2 separate regions of the Homo sapiens genome follow, and region 1 is linked to region 2. Evidence: promoter capture Hi-C in 16 types of primary human blood cells and fetal thymus (Javierre and others, 2016). All regions are on one chromosome and are shown on one strand. Each heading gives the region's core, a stretch centred on a gene start or on the middle of the fragment in contact. The rest is flanking DNA. Distances are from core to core; before and after follow the strand shown. Region 1 has its middle 640 kb from the start of GJE1. Region 2 holds the start of HECA (hdc homolog, cell cycle regulator).

Region 1 (6,866 bases), core at 843-3,342, 2.4 Mb before region 2:
GTAAGGTATACACACTGGTTTGGCCTGGAAAGGGGGGATGTCTCAAAGTTGTGGGGCTTCCAGATCATACGTGAATTAAAAGATTTCCTGATTGGTATTTGTTTAAAAGAGTTAAGCCCTGACTAAAACGTTGAATTTAGCATAAAGAAGTGTTTGAGTTTATATAAGAAGGTTGTGGAAGCCAAGATTCTTGTTATGTAGATGAAGCTTCCAAGTAGCAGTCTTCAGAGAAAATAGTTGGTGAATGTCTCTTATCAGTCCTCAAATAGTGTCAGATTCTCAAGAAAAGACGTAGTAAGAGAAGGAGATTCTCTACAGGGTGCAAATTTCACCCACAAGAGACAATTTTGCAGGGCCATTTCAGAATATGTCAAATAAATATATTTTGGGGTAAAATAATTAGATTTCCTTCAGGGCCTGTTATTTGTCATGTGATGCTATATGAGAGTTGGGTTGGAATTTGGTATCTTATTGCTATAAAAAGTCTGTTTTGACAGTCTTAGGATCTTATATTTAATGATAACACTAGTCAGTTGTATCTAAACTGCTGAGGAGGAGAGTATAATGAGACATGTCTGACATGCTCTTTCTGTCATGGCCTGAACTAGATTTTCAGGTTTCTTTGAGATCCGCTGGGCCAAGAGAGGGATGCTTGAGTCAGCTAGGGGTGCTTAGAATTTTATTTTTGGTACACTTATACATACACACACACACACACACATACACACACACACCATAGATTAATGTAGATAAGCACAGACAGAAAAGTAGATATAGATGTGTATGTATCTATGTGTTCATATGCACACATATATTTTCTAAATCTGTCTGCTCAGAGTGCCTGGCACACAGCAACATTCTTGTGCTCAGATCTTAGATCTTAGTTTCTAAGTAACATTCTCCAGTAAAAATAAATAAATAAGTAAAGCTTCTTGGCATAATTGCTGATGCTAGGCCTGGGACAGGAATCTTTTGGCCAGCAAAATAAAAAGTAACAATACTGAATTGCCTCACAAAGAAGAACATAAGTATCCATGAGTCCAAACTGACATTACGTAAGTAAATAAATGAAGTAGAATGGCTAAATTTCCTTATAGAATTCCAAATAATAAATGTGGAAGTAATTAAGGGAAAAGAAAATAGTCATTAGGAAATCATAGTCATTGCTTCAAGCAAGATCTGCTGATGAATGCTAAATTAGTTGACAAACTATTAAGAAGAAAGAAGATAGTTAAATAGCTTCAAGATATCTTCCTCATAATATTTAATAAGTGTTGTGATATTTTATATACATGTCTATACATTCTTTGATACTCCTCCTTCCAGGAGTTGGAGCTTAATTTCCCTACCCTTGAGATTAGGTTGGATTTAAAGACTAGCATTTATCAAATAGCATATGAAAAGGGAAATCCAGTAGTTTATAGTGAAAATTTTAACAAATAGCATTTTAATCAAATATTCAAAATTAACATTATGAGTGATAAGATATCCCTGTTATCAGGAGATGAGGGAAGAAAAAAATAAACCAAACTTCAATTCTATGAAACTTTTCCCCTAAATCCATAGTAACCTTAGACTAGTCATGGAAAATAGACAAAACTTTTAAGATAGTTATAAACAAGGAAGTCTGAGAAACTGAGATAGACTGGAGGAGACCAAGGAGACATGATGACTAAATGTAATGTGGTATCCTGGACAGAATCTTGGAAAAGAAAAAGGGCATTAGAAAACTTGTAAGTTCTGAACCAACTTTAGTTAATACTATTGCACCAATGTTAATTTCTTACTTTTGATAAATGTAGTATGGCTATGAAATATGTTGTGCTATTGTGAAATATATACTTGGTCTTTGTACTGTTTCCTGGTATATAACTACTAAAATTGTTGGAAACTTTAATGTGACCAGTATCTTTTTGTATGCTAATATGTTGATTTAGGCTGGCATCTCTCTTAAGTAGCTTCAGGATGGGGGCTGCTCACTGGAAAGAACAAAGCAGTGTTACAGAAAAGAGGTACCCATCCAGACCCCAAGAGAGGGTTATTGGATCTCATGCAAGAAAGTATTCAGGGTGAGTCCGCAGTGCAAAGTGAAAGCAAGTTTATTAAGAGAGTAAAGGAATAAAAGAATCGCTACTCTATTGACAGAGCAGCCCTGAGGGCTGCTGATTGCTCATTTTTACGGTTGTTTATTGATAATATCCTAAACAAGGAGTGGATTATTCATGCCTCCCCTTTGTAGACCATATAGGGTAACTTCCTGACATTGCCATGGCATTTGTAAACCATCATGGCGCTGGTGAGGGTGTAGCAGTGAGAACAACCAGAGGTCACTCTTGTTGCCATTTTGGTTTTGGTGGGTTTTGGCCAGCTCCTTCACTGCAAACTGTTTTATCAGCAAGGTCTTTGTGACCTGTATTTTGTGTTGACCTCCTATCTCATCCTGTGACTTACAATGCCTTAACCATCTGGGAACACAGCCCACTAGGTTTCAGCCTCATTTTACCCAGATCCTATTTAAGATGGAGTTGCTCTTGTTCACACGCCTCTGAACGCAGGATTAGAGGATTGGGACTTTCAGCCTCACACCCTACCCACAAGGGAAGGGATGAAATTAAGTTGATCATCAATGGCCAATGATTTAATCAATCTTGCCTATGTAATGAAGTCTCCATAAATACCCAAAATGACAGGGTTTCGAGAGCTTTTGGATAGCTGACTAATGGGGGTTCCTGGATAGCTGAACATGGTGAAGTTCCTGGAGGGTAGCACACCCCACCTCCATGGGACAGAAGTTCCTGCAGTAGGGATACTTCTAGACCTTGCTCTATGTATCTTTTCATCTGATTTTTTTTCATCCTTTAAAACATGTTTTGTAACAAACTGGTAAATGTAAGAGAATGTTTCCTTGAGTTCTGTGAGTGCTCTAGTAAATTAACTGAACCCGAGTTGGGGGATATGGTAAACCTGATTTACAGTCAGTCAGAAGGAGAGGCAAAATAACCCAGGGCTTATGATTGCTGTCAGAAATTAGGGGCTGTCTTGTGGAACTGAGTCCTCAACCGATGGGATCTGGCACCACCTCCAGGTAGAGAGTGTGGGAATTGAGCTGGGTTGGAGGACACCCAGCGAGGGCCTGCTGTAGAATTGATTGCTTGCTTTGCCCTTTGCATATGGTGTCAGAAGCATGTTGTGAGAGTATAGTAAGAGAAACTGAGTTTGTTTTTTCTGCTCAGGTGTTCACATTATGGAAAGCTTTTAAGTTTACATTGGAATTCTTTGTTCTATTTTTCTGTAGATCTAAAACTGTTTAAAAATAAAGAGGCTAGGTCGGGCATGGTGGCTCATGCCTGTAATCCTAGCACTTTGCGAGGCCAAGGCGGGCAGATCACAAGGTCACGAGTTCGATATCAGTCTGGCCAACATAGTGAAACCTCATCTCTACTAAAAATACAAAAAATTAGCTAGGTATGGCGGTGTGTGCCTGTAATCCCAGCTATTTGGGAGGCTGAGGCAGGAGAACTGCATGAACCCAGGAGACGGAGGTTGCAGTGAGCCAAGATCATGCCATTGCACTCCAACCCAGGCAACAGTGCAAGACTCTGTCTCAAATAAATAAATAAATAAATAGGCTAAAAATTATCACGTTTAGGTGTATTATAGCATTTATCTTTTCTAGATTTCTGTAAGGCTATTTAAAAATGTAGAAATGAAGTGGTTTTGTCCAATGACTTTGTTACTTAAAATCCTAAGAACCCTGTATGGTTAGAGTTCTATAATGTACACTGTAAGTTAACACATATGTTACCTTGTGCTGTGGTTTTAGTACATCCCCCAAAGTTTGTGTGTTGAAAACTTAATCCTCAATGCAGCAACATTGAAAAGGTGGGAACTTTCAATAAGGTCATAAGGGCTCTTCCCTCATGAATAAATTAGGTCTGTATCATGAGAGTGGGTTAGTTATTTTGGCCCCTTCTCTGTCTTGTCTGCTTTCTTGCATTTCTGCCTATCTGCCATGGGATGATGCAGCAGGAGGGCCCTAGCCAGATGCCAGCACCATGCTCTTGCACTTTTCAGTCTCCAGAAACTTGAACAAAATAAACTTCTTTTCTTCATAAATATTACCCAGGTATGGTATTCTGTTATAGCACTAGAAAGCGGACCAAGTCACATTGGGTTAGCAAATAAAAAGTCAAAATATTTCAATGCACAGATTTATAATCATGACAGGCAAAATTACTTATCTAATTCTGAGGGATAAATTATCTAACTTTTACTTGGAGTTTTCTAAAAGACCTAAAATGTTTAACTGTGGGTCAACCTTTACCTGATATGCTTACTTATAAAAGTCTAAGAATACTGATTTTTTTCTCAATTTGCTTATGTGTTTAGAATTATTATTTTTAAAAACACCCAACTAGTCTTCCCCACATCTAATTAATCAATATGCACAGAAAACAAATAAATAAAAATATAGAAAAGACACTGAAAATTTAAAGTTTAAGAACTAATGGATTGATAAGAAAAACAGTGCCTCAAAAATGGTTTTTATATATATATAAATTATGTATATAATACATTATAATGTATGTTTATAATAATATATAATTTTACCATAATTTATAATTTATATCATAAATTGTATATACATATTTGATAAAAATATTATTTTAACCATATATATATACACACACAAACACACACACACATATATATATAACCATTATATATATACTGATAAAAATTTTACACCACTGGAACATTTCATTATTTTGGCAGGATTGTCTTTGGGCAGCACAACCTTGAGGAGCAATGTAGCAATATCTTATAAGGTTGAAGAAACAGCCATAGACAGCTCAGTAATGAAATCATTACTGAATGTGTACACTAGAGAAACTCTTACATATGTGCAAATTTAGTAAATGCTCCCTGTCCCTTTGGCCTGATGAGTTCACCTACTGCTCCTTTAAACAGCTACTGACCTGCTGCTAGACTGTAACTTCCTGTTTCTGCATCACCCTTCTCCACTTAAGCCGTTTCTCTGAAAACAAATGAGATAGAAATGCTGGACACAGGAACACTCAGTATGTGCCTGTGTTAACACTACTTAAGGGAAATCCTCAACAATTGGGGCTAAAAGGCAATGGCTAAATCCTGTAGCTTCCTTGTACTGGGGTAGAACTAACCCAAGGTATGTTCCTTACAATCCCCAGTGGGATTGTGACTCAGTTGTTAACTGTGGTACTCAAGCTTGTTAAGACGTAACTTTATTGCCCCTTTTCTCTTACCTATTTCCCTTTCTTTCTTTTCTCATTTTTGGTGCCTGGGATCAACTTCAAAATAAAGTGTCTGTGTCCAAATCCTTGACTCCATTGGATTTGGTGGGGGAAGGATTAAGACTAAACAGAATATGAGAATGTCCATTCCAGCATGATTTGTAATAGTAAACAATCAGCAAAATTGAGGCTTTTAAATTTTATTGTGTTTTATAGTAGCTTAGCAAAATAAATCAATAATTTATTTTTATATCTAGAACAACCGAGAATTTACATTCAGAGATATTAAATTTATAATATCTTCATAAATTGGAATTGGAATTAATTTATAATATTTTCTTATGTGAAGTCAATACTACTGACTATCAAGACTTCTTATATGAAGTCAATACTATTATCACTTTTTGGTGTAAGTGTGGAACATACATTCAAATGACTACCAAGTAATGGGATTATATGCATGCTTAGAAATAAATACAGATATCAAGTTCTGAATAAGTGGTCATGGTAATATTTATTCCCAGATAATTGCAACAAACCATGTAGAAATTATATATTTCTTAGATGAATCAACAATTCAATTGTATTATACTGTGTATTAGTCTGTTCAGGCTGTCAGAACAAAATACAATAGACTTGATGGCCTAAACACAGAAATGTATTTTCTCATAATTCTGAAACTGGAAGTCCAAAAGCAAGGAGCCAGCAGGGTTGGTGTGTGGCGAGGGTTTGCCCCTTGGGTTGCAGATGATTGGATGCCTCCTTGCTACATTTGCTACATGCTGTCTTGATCTTTTCTTTGTGTCCTCCTGGAGAGACAGCTAGAGAGAGAGAGAAAGAGAGAGAGTGAGAGAGAGGAGAAAGTTATTTTTCTCTCTGGTGTTTCTTCTTATAAAGACATTATTTCTATTGGATTAGTGTCCCAATTTAATGATCTTATTTAACCTTAATTATATCTGTAGAGGCTTCTTCCCCAAATACACAAATACAGTCATATTGGCAGTTAGGCCTTCAATATATGAATCTGGGGGAAGGAATATAAATATTTAGTCTATAATATACTCACATTCTGTACTCAAGACTTTTTATTAAAATAAGTTACAAGGAACTTATCATCCACTGATTACTAAGAGGCGTTGGGAACCATATGCAAATAATTTTTAATCTTGATCCTTCTAACACTTTATTACAAACTATTCATATCTAGAATTTAAGATTTGGATGAAACTTTTCAGATTATCTACTATAAGCACAACGTACAAGGATATTTCTATGTGTTTCTTGGCAAGGTGCCAGGATCATACTCTATTTCTGGGCGGAGGGAACAGTGCATTGTATTTACCTAAATATTTAGAGAGTCTTCTTAATATTGACTTATAATATTTTTTCTTATAATGTCTATACATTTGACATAAATATGCCATCTGGAAAATGCTGACCATATGTGTTCTCTGATTCCAAGTATCACTGTATTTATTTTCATGGTAACCTAGCTTCAGAACAACTCAAGTGCTCAAACCAAACACTGTAATATGGATACTGCCTGTCAACTAACAGATACTTTTTCTATGATTTCCTCATAAAAAGTATTTG
Region 2 (6,787 bases), core at 826-3,325:
GAACATGAAGAACACAGGCTACCCAAAACTAGTATTCTGAAACATTCACAAACGGGGTAAGTTTGTTTCTGAAAATAAATAAATAAATCTTCCTATTTCAATATTGCAGAGACACAGCCAACGGGGCCTACAGTTCTAACAGGCGACATTCAGCCGCCTATGTTCAGAGCACTGTACGCTGCTTGTAAGAGCAGGTGCCCTGTTTAAAAAGTGCCTGATCTGGCTGGGCGTGGTGACTCACGCCTGTAATCTCAGCACTTTGGGAGGCCGAGACGGGCGGATCACGAGGTCAGGAGTTCGAGACCAGCCTGACCAATATGGTGAAACCCTGTCTCTACTAAAAATAACAAAAATTAGCCGGGCGTGGTGGCGGGCGCCTGTAATCCCAGCTACTCGGGAGGCTGAGGCAGGAGAATCGCTTCAGACCGGAAGACGGTGGTTGCAGTGAGCCGAGATTGCGCCACTACGCTCCAGCCTGGGCGAAATTGCAAACTCCGTCTAAAAAAAAAAAAACAAAACAAAAAAGTGCCTGATCTACATAAAGAATGGCTTCAAAAGCTGACGCTATAAATTAAAAGCCAGATATAACAATTCAAATCTCCCTTCATTAAAATACCTACGTTGTCTTCCTGGAAAAAGTGCCTGACTAGAGGAATTCAAAGAACTGTCCAAATAAGTAAGTGTTTGCCCAGCACCTTATAACGAAAACCATGGCTCTGTAATGAGAACAGAAATCCTGTCACATCTGGGCCAGTTCCTAAGTGTCCCCTCAAAAGGAACATTCAGGCACTACCTAAGATTATGAGGCTTCCTTCTGAAAATGTTAAGCACAATGACATAGAGAATGATTTTTCTTTTCTTTCTTTTCTTTTTTTTTTTTTTTTTTTAACTCCGGGCTGAGAACGGAAGTCAAGTTCAGATTCTCTTCCTTCCTCAAGCAAGCCAAAAAATTAAAGAGCAAACACAGAGGCCCTAAATGTCTCGAGGCCTCTTCACCTGTGGCGATCGACGCAGCAAGCCTGGGTGTGCTAAGAATTGAGGCTCTCTCTCCTTCATTCCGGGGGTTACGGGTGGCCTTGGAGCACCGGGAAGAATTAACCGGTGCCTAAGTTTTCAATCGGATCATTCTTCTCAACTTGGGCGGCTCTTTCCTCCCTTCCTTCCTCCCTTCGGCCCGGCACACACGGCGGGGCAGTGCCAGCGCGGGCAGCAGGCTGGGCCCGAGGGCAGCGCTGCCGCAGCCGGGAGCCCCTCAGAGTGTGGGGCGCGGGCTGCCCCCCGCGCGGACACCGGGCAGGGGCCGCAGATCTGTCCCCGCCGCCAGGCGTGGGGACCGCGAAGGGGCAGCCGCGGCGGGGCGGAGGGGCGGGGTGAGCACTTCCTGACTCTCGCATTGTCCACGCACCGCCCGCGCCACCCAGGGCCCCGCCACCGCGCCGTCCCCGTCGGGGAGGAAGTTGGCGCTCGCCCCGCCAGCCCCGTCTTACCGTTTTTGGCATCGCCCGCGGCCGCAGCCCCCGCGGCGGCCGCAGCGTTCGCGGCGCCAGTCCCCGCGCCTCCGGCGCCCGCCGCGCCTCCGGCGCCCGGCGCGCCCGCCGCCGCCGCCCCGCAACCGGCCGCCGCCGCCAGGGCCCCCCCGGCCGCCGCTCCCGCCGCGCCCGCCGCTGCCAGGGCCCCGGCTCCATTTTCCTGCTCGTCGCCGCTGCTGTTGGCGCGCTTGTTTTTGCGGCCGCCTTTGCTGTTTTTGGGGTTGGGCATCTCGCTCGCTCGCGTCCAGGTAGGTGCCCGGCGTCAGCGAAGGCGGATCCCAGAGGCACGGCCGTTCCCGGCCCTGCGTGAAGCCGGCTCCGGGAAAGAACGGAGGGCGCGAGCCGGCGGTTCCCTCGGCTCCCGTCTAGCCGCACGGCCCGTGCCGCGCCATCCTGGCCGCCGCGCCCTCTCCGGCTTCCTGGAGCCGGCACGCGGCCACCCGAGGCTCGCAGCCGCGCGGGCGCCGCGGGCCCGGGGCGCAAGCGAGACGCTCCCGAGCCGGAGGGAAAAGGCGGGTCTCCGGCTTGTTTTGATTCGGCTGCACTGACACGCTCTGGGCCCGCCCCCTCCCGTGACGACACTGGGGATTCGGCCTGGCCGCGCCCACCAGGTGACCTCACGGCTGACGGGACCGCCCGCGTGACGTCACGCCCCGCGCGGGGCCTGCCCACCTCGAGTGACGTCATCCAGGCGTCCCCACCCGGGCCTCCTGGACTCCCGGGCGTTCATGAGCTGCCCTGCTTGACTTGCTCCACCCGCCAGTGCAGTGGCATGTGGAGTTCTTCGGTGGCCTCCTGGCCTTAATGTAATTGAGGCTTAGAACAGTATGGTCTGGAAAAATAAGCTGTGACTAGAGCAAGAATGGAAAACAAAAGATTTTGGATTAATAACTCATTCAAAGGCTATGCCTTTCAGTAACAGTAATTAAAGAAACAGGGGACCGGGCGCGGTGGCTTATGCCTGTAATCCCAGCACTTTGGGAGGCCGAGGCGGGTGTATCACGAGGTCAAGAGATCGAGACCATCCTGGCCAACGTGGTGAAACCCTGTCTCTACTAAAAATACAAAAAAAAATTAGCTGGGCGTGGTGGCGTGCGCCTGTAGTCCCAGAAACTCGGGAAGCTGAGGCAGGAGAATCACTTGAACCTGGGATCCGAGATCGCGCCACTGCACTCCAGCTTGAGCAACAGAGCGAGACTCTGTCTCAAAAAAAAAAAAAAAAAAAGAAAAGAAAGAAAGAAACAGGGTAGAGTTCCCAGACAATGGGGATGAACACCAGGGTCCTGAATGGGAAGCCTTCACAGTCTGGTGGTGAAAACAATTCACTCAAACAAGACCCATCATCCAGGGATGTAACTAGATGTTGCCTGGACTCTGAAGCAGTCCCTGCTTGGGGGGAACCCATCCCTATGCATAGGGCTGAGTTGTCCTGAAAGATAGTGAAAGATAGGTAGCCAGGTTATGAGCAGTAGGAGATTAGGTGACACCAGTGAAGACAGGCAATATGAGGGCAGGGGACCCCTGGGAAGAGCTCCCCTTGATCTCTTTCTGCAATTCTATTCTACCTTTTCGGCCAACTCCTTCCCTTCCTTCAGGTCTCAGCTCAAATACATCACTTCCACAGAGACCTTCCCAGGAGAGCTGTCAGAAGTTCCACCCTGTTATTTTCCTCCTCCATCTCTAATTATGTTGGCAATGTAGGTGTTTACTTATTTCTTGTATATCTCCCTCTCACTGAAATGAAACCTCCATGGATAGATTTTATCTGCCTTGGGCACATCAGAGAACAGCTGGCATAAATTTGTTGAATGTATAAATTAGGTTCCTTCCTCACGAACTGTGGAGGAAAGACTAGTTTAGCTGACAGCTTTACAGTGTTCCCCTTTTATAGTGTAATCTTTAATTCAGCCCTTTAGTAAAAGCTCTGTCACGGTGTTGTTGTTACCATTAGAGGGTCTTGACTGCAAGTCGTCCAAGTTCTTGGCATTTTGAACAAACAATTGGACCAAACGCCCAGCAAAGCAAGGAAAGAAGAAAGCAGGGATTTATTGAGAATGAAAGTACACTCCACAGTATGGAAGCGGCCCCAGCGGTGGCTCAAGGTTCCGGATGCAGAATCTTCTGAGGTCCAAATACCCCCTGGAGGTTTCTCATGTAAATGAAGTGGTGACGCACAATTAGTCTGATTGGTTGCTTTCGTCAACCAATCAGAGGCTGAAGTGGAGTTAACAAAGGTCACACTTCTGTGCAATCACACTTTTTGCACACTTCTGTTTAAAAAGCAACCAATCAGAGGCTAAGGTGAAGTTACAAAGTTGCACTTCTATGCAAAGACTCCACCCGCAATCAGTCTCATTGGTTGCTGACAGCCAGTTTCCCATCTGCCACGCAGAAAAGGTGAGGGTTTGCAAAGGGAGCAGCTTCTGGTCCTTTTGTTACTCAGGTGTGGAAAGTTAGGGTTTTCCTTTCAATTTAGTTTAGGAAGTGGGGTGAAACGCCCTTAGGTTCCCTGCCTCCAGACTCTGTTCTCTGCCTCATTGTGAACTATACAGATAGACAGGAAAGTACAAGAAACAATACTCTCCCCCACATTCAGGTAATGGAGAGGAGATTCTGATTGCGAGCTCTGGGCAACCATAGCAGAATGCATAACAGAGCCTGGAACGGCAAGAAGGAGCAAGCACTGGATACTCAGGGGAAATTGCTGGTTGGACTCTTTAGTAGAAAAAAAAAGTTGAAATTTTAAATTCCCTAATATGTATTAGAGGATAGTGACCCTTTAGAAGGCCCTATTGATAGATAGATATTTTGTGCTTATATTTTCATGTCTATTTCTCCCCAACCTTGAAATCCCCTAGGTGCTAAGAGAGCAGGGATTGTGCCTAGCTTTCTAACGCTACAGAGTCTGGCATAAACCTTGACCCACAGTAAGTATTCAATAAAAATTTGTTGCATGGAAGATACCTAAAGCACTCTTCTTCTGGCTACATTATTCTGAACCTTAAAGTCTCAGCTAAATCATCAATTCTCTAGGAAATCTGTGACAACCCAAAACTAGACTTGTCCCCAGATACTCCCTGCACCTTCCTCACCATAGCAGCTTACACACTGGGATATTGCTTTGGTGGCCACTTGGACACCAAAAATGAGGGGTGAAAGAGAGAGTGAAGTCAAGAAATTCTGAAAATCAGAAGAAATGATGAAGGTAGTTAATTAAAGGGAGACTTCCCGGGGAGGGCAGTGGGTCCGTGGAGGAAGATAATGAATTACTGTTGCCCATTCAGACTTAGCTTAATTTCATTATTGATACCACTAGAGGTCTCAAAATATGTGGGTGATGTTAGCTTTGGCGTTTCTTTTTTTTTTTCTGGTTTTTTGTTTTGTTTTTTTAAGTCGTGAAGGCGAAGACATTTTAGGTTAGAGTACAAGAAAATTGAGATAATTATTTTCTTGAATAAGCACATTGCTGTCATGCCATATTGGATCAGAGTTAGTATGCATGTACCCTGCAGACAGACATTCACACCAGCTGCCTCCCACCTCTACATAACTGAGAATTAAGAATTGGAAACTTTCCACAAAAATATCCTAATTGGCTCAAAGCACCCAGACATCCAGCCAGTTGCTGTTCTGGTTAATTGTGTGAGCTACCTCCTTCTATTCAAACTGAAACAAAATGAAAAGGAGGAAGGAGAAGCTTGCCACTTCTTCCATGCTCAACCTCGCTAATCTATTTTTAGCCTTAGTCAAATTTGGTGCAGAGGCAATAGTTCCGATTTTATTGCTACAAAGACAATATACTAAAATCAAGATGTTAGGAACAAAATGTAGGTGAAGTTAAAGGACTCCATTTCCTATGTTCTATCCTGCTGTCCTAGCCGTTTTCCCACCATTTCTGAAGGTGAGAGAGAGAGACAGCATACCAAAAGACAAAAGGTGGCAGATGGTACAATGGAACATTCCCCTTAGAAACTTCCAGAAGTATAAAGAACTCCAAGGAACTGAGGAAGCCACTCTGTTCTGTACATCTACACTTGCCTTCTCATTCTTCAATTTCCCTGATCAACTCATGCTCTGATATAAACTTCAAAAAAATTATACCTCTATCCTAGGTTTCCTTCCCCCAAACCTCACCCACCCTATTGCTCACTTCTCTGCGAAAACAAAATAAAGCACAGCAACAAATCAAGGGCATCAAAAGCAAACAATTTACACCCTTAAGAAAGGGGTGGGCTAATCTTCAGGCTGAACTGGAATAAGCAGTCATTGTTTCAGTGCCCTAATTTTGTTCATTTGACATTTTGTGGCTGTCTTCTGAGCTCTTGGGGTCAGCTAAGTTTGGTTAGGTTTAAAGTACAAAATATATGTGTTAAGGATAATTGAAAACTTAGAACATAGGTAAGAAGCCAAATATCCAAATACACCTTGATCGAAAAAATCATATTGGAACTCAGAAGGAATTCTGCAGATAACACAGTAATGCACACAAGAATATGTCCACAATTGAAACATAAGCTAAAAGGTACTAAAGCCTGATCTGCTAAAAAGTCACTTCAAATAAATACACCTGGAGCAATGCATTGTCTTCATGCATCAGTTTTTTCTTCTGCAAATAGCCTTTCCTATGGCCACAGGTTTTCTTTGAGGAATAATGACAATTGTGATTATAAAAACTTTGAAAAAATGGAATATTAAAGCAAATAATAATATTGATTAATAAATTCCATAGATCTACTCTCCCTTTAGGCTGTTCCCGATTACCAATATTAATATTTTTCTCAAATATTTGCCCTTAAAATCTCTTTTCCATCCTTTAGTTGTGACTTTTACATTATTTTCATAATCTATAAAAGCAGTCATAAAAAAGGGTCAGAATTTTTTTCAGTGATCCCTGAACTTGCTGCTTACTCGAACCTCTGTGCCTTCCTTGCTCATACTATTGTCCCAGTTCAGCATCAATACTATCTTAGGCCCCAGTAAACCCGAAAGAACGTTTCCTTCATGAGATTTATTTACTTTTTTTTTTTTTTTTTTTTTTTGGGACGGAGTCTCGCTCTGTCGCCAAGGCTGGAGCGCAGTAGCACAATCTCGGCTCACTGCAACCTCCACCTCCCGGGTTCAAGTGATTCTCCTGCCGCAGCCTCCTGAATAGCTGGGATTACAGGTTTGCGACACCATGCCCAGCTAATTTTTGTATTTTTAGTAGAGACGGGGTTTCACCATATTGGCCAGGCTGGTCTCGAACTCCTGACCTTAAG

The links. Contacts are between HindIII fragments. The CHiCAGO score rates a contact against its expected background, and 5 or more counts as called.
Region 1: a contact is called between a fragment that was not itself captured here and the fragment with the promoter of HECA in region 2, in 1 of 17 cell types (total B cells). The highest score is 7.1, in total B cells.

Annotation. Positions count from the first base shown.
Region 1 is chr6:141,486,835-141,493,700 of GRCh38, reverse strand. No RefSeq gene overlaps it. Among named protein-coding and RNA genes, the nearest start is that of GJE1, 640 kb to the left of the region's middle. RefSeq lists a silencer at 4,902-5,102. The HindIII fragment of the contact is 2,324 bases long and covers 931-3,254 here.
Region 2 is chr6:139,130,368-139,137,154 of GRCh38, reverse strand. It overlaps HECA (hdc homolog, cell cycle regulator), which reads right to left and starts at 2,075. Exons shown (of 4, transcript NM_016217.3): 1 at 1,488-2,075. The coding sequence starts at 1,758. RefSeq lists enhancers at 1,004-1,123, 1,989-2,283, 3,562-3,611 and silencers at 1,234-1,503, 1,904-1,983, 2,094-2,283. The HindIII fragment of the contact is 5,734 bases long and covers 1-5,228 here.